2 separate regions of the Homo sapiens genome follow, and region 2 is linked to region 1. Evidence: promoter capture Hi-C in human tissues and cell types (Jung and others, 2019). All regions are on one chromosome and are shown on one strand. Each heading gives the region's core, a stretch centred on a gene start or on the middle of the fragment in contact. The rest is flanking DNA. Distances are from core to core; before and after follow the strand shown.

What was found. The method cuts DNA at HindIII sites, captures the fragments that hold promoters and counts their contacts. A contact is called where the count stands out against the background at its distance.
Region 2: a contact is called between a fragment that was not itself captured here and the fragment with the promoter of FKBP1C in region 1, in 1 of the 25 tissues and cell types used here (lymphoblastoid cells).

The regions. Positions count from the first base shown.
Region 1 is chr6:63,210,150-63,212,849 of GRCh38, forward strand. It overlaps FKBP1C (FKBP prolyl isomerase family member 1C), which reads left to right and starts at 1,320. Exons shown (of 1, transcript NM_001395980.1): 1 at 1,320-2,700. The coding sequence starts at 1,408. The coding sequence ends at 1,734. The HindIII fragment of the contact is 10,095 bases long and covers 1-2,700 here.
Region 2 is chr6:62,084,960-62,087,659 of GRCh38, forward strand. All of the region lies in intron 2 of KHDRBS2 (KH RNA binding domain containing, signal transduction associated 2), which reads right to left. Among named protein-coding and RNA genes, the nearest start is that of KHDRBS2, 200 kb to the right of the region's middle. The HindIII fragment of the contact is 3,533 bases long and covers 1-2,700 here.

The DNA of each region.
Region 1 (2,700 bases), core at 70-2,569:
CTAATGGCAAGCAGAGGCTACACTAAATGTATTTAACCTAAAGACAAGTTGATAAGAAATTTATAATTCCACTGTTTTTTAAAAATTACAAAAGTAAAAGGTATATACACATAACATCTACAGCAACAAAGAATGCAAAAACATTCTTTTCACATAGAAAGAGTTAAATATACATGCTTTCAAGAACAATAGCAGCTTCTCTTAAACTTTCTTAACTTACCTAGTGTTTTCTATCACTAAAAAAGCTGTATGTAAATCATTAAGTTTAGACTACTGAATCTATATCGTTCTTTGTAAACCAGACTCAAAGCATATTTCTTTCTAAGTTAACATGAACATAATAGAACACACAGAAAGAAAAATATAACTGTGAGTTTATATGCAAAGTACTGGACAACTTTCAAATATATACATCCTTCCTTTTTTCTTTAAAATATCTCTCTACACTGATACTTCTGGCAGAAACCTGACAATAGTGGCTACGCTAATCGTAGCATACTATTTAGATGGACAACAGTTAATTCATTTGAGCAAAAGTTTTAGAGATCTGTTTTAGACCTTTAAATCAAACTCCAGATATATACAATAGTATCCCTTATCCACAGTTTTGCTTTCTGCAGTTTCAGTTACCCATGGTCAATAGTGGTCTGCAAATATTAAATTGAAAGCTTCAGAAATAAACAATTCATAAGTTTTAAATTGCACACCATTCTGAGTAGTGTGAAGAAATCTCGAGCCATCCCGTTCCACTCTCACCTGACTGAGACGTGAATTATCCCATTGTCCACCATCTCCACACTGTATACCCTCCCTGTCTGTTAGTCACTCAGTAGCTGTCTTGGTTATCAGATCAATTGTAAGGTAGCTCAGAGCTTGTGTTTAATATGTACCCCTTATTTTACTTCATAATGGCCTCAAAGTGCAAGAGTAATGATGCTTTTATATTGTTATAACTGTTCTATTTTATTATTAGTCATTGTTTTTAGTCTCTTGCTGTGCCTAATTTATAAATTAAATTTTATCATAGGTATGTATGTACAGGAAAAAATATAGTATATATAGGGTTCTGTACTATCTGTGGTTCTGTGGTTTCAGGCACCCACTGGGGATCTTGGAACGTAGCCGCCACAGATAATGGGAGACCAAACACAAAGTTAACAAAGTTAACAAGGAAATGGTAACACTTCCAGTACGGGAAAAAAAAAAAAAAACCTATTTAGAGATTTTTAAGTGACTCATTCAACACACTTGCCCAGAAGGCACTAATATAGAATTTGTAGATTTTAAAAATACAGTATGGGCAGGCAACGCGCTGAGGGACTAGGCAGAGCCGTGGAACCGCCGCCAGGTCGCTGTCGGTCCACGCCGCCCGTCGCGCTGCCCGCCCGCTCGGCGTCGGCCGCCGCCATGGGAGTGCACGTGGAAACCATCTCCCCAGGAGACTGGCGCACCTTCCCGAAGCGCAGCCAGACCTGCGTGATGCACTACACCGGGATGCTTGAAGATGGAAAGAAATTTGATTCCTCCCGGGACAGAAACAAGCCCTTTAAGTTTATGCTAGGCAAGCAGGAGGTGATCCGAGGCTGGGAAGAAGGGGTTGTCCAGATGAGTGTGGGTCAGAGAGCCAAACTGACTATATCTCCAGATTATGCCTATGGTGCCACTGGGCACCCAGGCATCATCCCACCACATGCCACTCTCGTCTTCGATGTGGAGCTTCTAAAACTGGAATGACAGGAATGGCCTCCTCCCTTAGCTCCCTGTTCTTGGATCTGCCATGGAGGGATCTGGTGCCTCCAGACGTGTGCACATAAATCCATATGGAGCTTTTCCTGATGTTCCACTCCACTTTGTATAGACATCTGCCCCAACTGAATGTGTTCTGTCACTCAGCTTTGCTTCCGACACCTCTGTTTCCTCTTCCCCTTTCTCCTGGTATGTGCGTTTACCTAAACTATATGCCATAAACGTCAAGTTATTCATTTTACTTTTTCATTTTGGGGTGAAGATTCAGTTTCAGTCTTTTGAATATAGGTTTCCAATTAAGTACATGGTCAAGTGTTAACAGCACAAGTGATAAGTTAACGTTAGGATAGGAATTGGTGTTGAGGGGGTTGCAAGAATATTTTATTTTAATTTTTTGGATGAAATTTTTATCTATTATATATTAAACATTCTTGCTGCTGCGCTGCAAAACCATAGCAGATTTGAGGCACTGTTGAGGACTGAATTATTCTCCAAGTTGAGAGATGTCCTTGGGTTAAATTAAAAGCCCTACCTAAAACTGAGGTGGGGATGGGGAGAGGCTTTGCCTCCACCATTCCCACCCCACCCTCCCCTTAAACCCTCTGCCTTTGAAAGCAGGTCATGTTCACTGCGATGCTGGACACTACAGGTATCTGTCCCTGGGCCAGCAGGGACCTCTGAAGCCTTCTTTGTGGCCTTATTTTTTTTTTTTTTTTTTTCATCCTGTGGTTTTTCTAACGGACTTTCAGGAATTTTGTAATCTCATAACTTTCCAAGCTCCACCACTTCCTAAATCTTAAGAACTTTAATTGACAGTTTCAATTGAAGGTGCTGTTTGTAGACTTAACACCCAGTGAAAGCCCAGCCATCATGACAAATCCTTGAATGTTCTCTTAAGAAAATGATGCTGGTCATCCCAGCTTCAGCATCTCCTGTTTTTTGATGCTTGGCTCC
Region 2 (2,700 bases), core at 133-2,632, 1.1 Mb before region 1:
AAATAATTCTAACAAAACACTTAAATGTGTGCAGGCAAAACTGAAACATCTAACAATAAAATGGCACCATAAAATTATCTGCACAATAGTAAATTTCCAAGAAATCACATTTTAAATATTACTCTATTAGAATTCTAAAGGAGTGCTATTTAGCACCTACTCATTCTGATATTAAGAACTGATTATATTTGAGATATTAAGAATATTAGGATGCTTAAGAAATATTTACATTATTTATTTGAGACACAAAACATGGTGAAGCTAGCTAGATGAAACTGTTGGCAAGGTTAGATGAAATTCTGAATTAAGGCAATGGAGAATGTGGATTGAAAAGAAGGCATAAATGCAATGGCTAAACCATGAAAAATATGTGGAGTGAGATATAAAAAGCATAGGAAATAAGGCTGAGAATCATTAAAATATGGAGGGTGGTGAAAGCAGTGGAAAATTATCATCAAAGGTAACTGAGAAGAATAGGAAAGATTAGTGTTAAAGAAGCAAAGTGAGTTTCAGAAAAAAAAGGAAAAGGCAACAGGAAAACATATTACAGAAAATCCAAGGTCTTTAATATGCCACAAAAATGACTGCATCTCTAGAAGTCAAGAGTTTAATGTATAAATGACGTGTTATATTAAGCACAAACAAAATGCTGCTGAGAAACCAAGTCCATGAATCTTAGCTCTTAGGAAATTAGCAGAAGTACTGAGGAATGTATTTTTACCAGAATAATGAAAGGCAAAGGTCTTTAGCAATGTATTGACAAATAAATATAAAATAAGCATTAAGGTTAGAGTTAGGGTTAGGGTTAATTAGAAGACTGCAGAATCATAGAATGTTGTTACATGTTGAAAATTCATGAAAAAGGGGCACTGAAAGACAGTGATGGGAGGGAAAAATAATTTACTTGAATAAAGTTAGGGTTAAGATTGGGAAAAAGAGTATCTGACAAAGTGGATTTCCTTTGGGAATTAGCAAAATATGTGATCTGCTAATAGTTAAGAGGAGTGGCTGAAGGGCTTCTGAAGACTGGTGATGACTGAGAATTTGCTATGGAGAATCTGAAAGGGTGCTAAGTGGAAACAAACAAAAGAATTACCAACGTACATCAACAATTCAACTGGATGTTTGAAAGAGTTTGGAAATTATGTATAATTGTGTCTGGCAATTCCATTTGCCAATTTTCAGTGACGCTTGATAGATATATATAAGGGTAAAGAAGCATGAAATTTAGCTTAAAATATAATGGGACTTTGACAGGAATTGTTTTGAAAAAGGAAAAGAAGACTAGGGAAATGACAGCACTACTGAGTACTTCAAAGTGATTGATTAATCCCAGGATTCTGTCTGAATAGCAAATGACTCAAAGGCTGAAAAAACAGGAAGGGGTAGAAAGACTTGAAGCTTTGATAGCTATAAAAAATATTTAATTAAGCAAGACAGTGGGAGATGCAAAATTATAGAGAATGTATAGTGGAAATTTAGAAATTTGGTTTTTAGATATAAGAAATCTGAGAATATTGTGAAAGTGGAGGCAGTGGTGGTGGCATAGTGTTGAAATCTCCTGGAATGCTCTCATAAATACAAACTGAGCAACTGGATAGCAAATCCATAACAAAACGAGGTGACAAGGATTCCCCTTGAACCACACAACATAAATGATGGTAATCTGTCTTTTATTAGCATCTGTTCAGGATAAAGGAGAGAGAAGCAAGTTGTCTGACAAAGCTGAGAATAGGAGAATCCCAAAATCATTAAATTGTATTCACTGGAAAATGTAGTGGGCCAATTTGAGATCAGCAGTTGAACATGAGAGGAGTTTTTCTGAACACAGTAGCAGGTGGGTACAAGGCACCCACTGTAAGTTCTAAAGAGCAATGCAGCCACTATACCCTCTCCAAATTGACAGGCAGGGATCCATTTCATCATACTGAGCAAAAATTACCAAGAGTAAAGTCAAAATTGGAGCAGAACAGTGCAATAACTGAAAAAAAAAAAAGGAAAAGATATAGGTGAGAAAAGGGATGAGAGCCAGGAAATGACAAAAGCAATCCACTATATTGTTTAACTCAATACAAAAACAACAAAAGAAGGAACTATGTAAATTTATAAGACATGTATGAACCTTGTCTCTTTCTAGAAGATTCAGAAAAATATAAGTTCACATGAAAATGAGCAAAAGAAAAGGATCAAATCCAGTCTCATGCAGTTATTATAACTTAAAAAGAGAATATTGATCCATATAACATTCCACAAACAATGAAAGCATACCAGAAGGATATGGTCATAAAATACAAGAAAACTGTTTTTCACGATTCTAAACAACCTAAAAGACATTAAGAAAATTATATTGGAGTTAAAGATAAATCAGAATTAGGAAGAATAATGTTTTAGGATCTAAAAAATTAGATTTTAAAACTAAGGCAAAGATTAGAAATAAAAAGACAATTTCATAAATTTAGACTAATTTAGAAGACACAAAAATAAAAATTATGAAAAATAAAAGATAGAAATGAAAATTTAAAGGCCAAAAAGAAATAAAAAAAGATATTAAATAAAATTTAACAGAAAGTGAAATACTGAAGGTGAGTAAAATATTTCCAAATAGGATGAGATGGTTCCCTGAGAAGAAAACAAACCCGACCTTTCTCTCTAGTTGCCCTTAACATTTTTTCCTTTATTTCAAGCTTGGTGAATCTGATC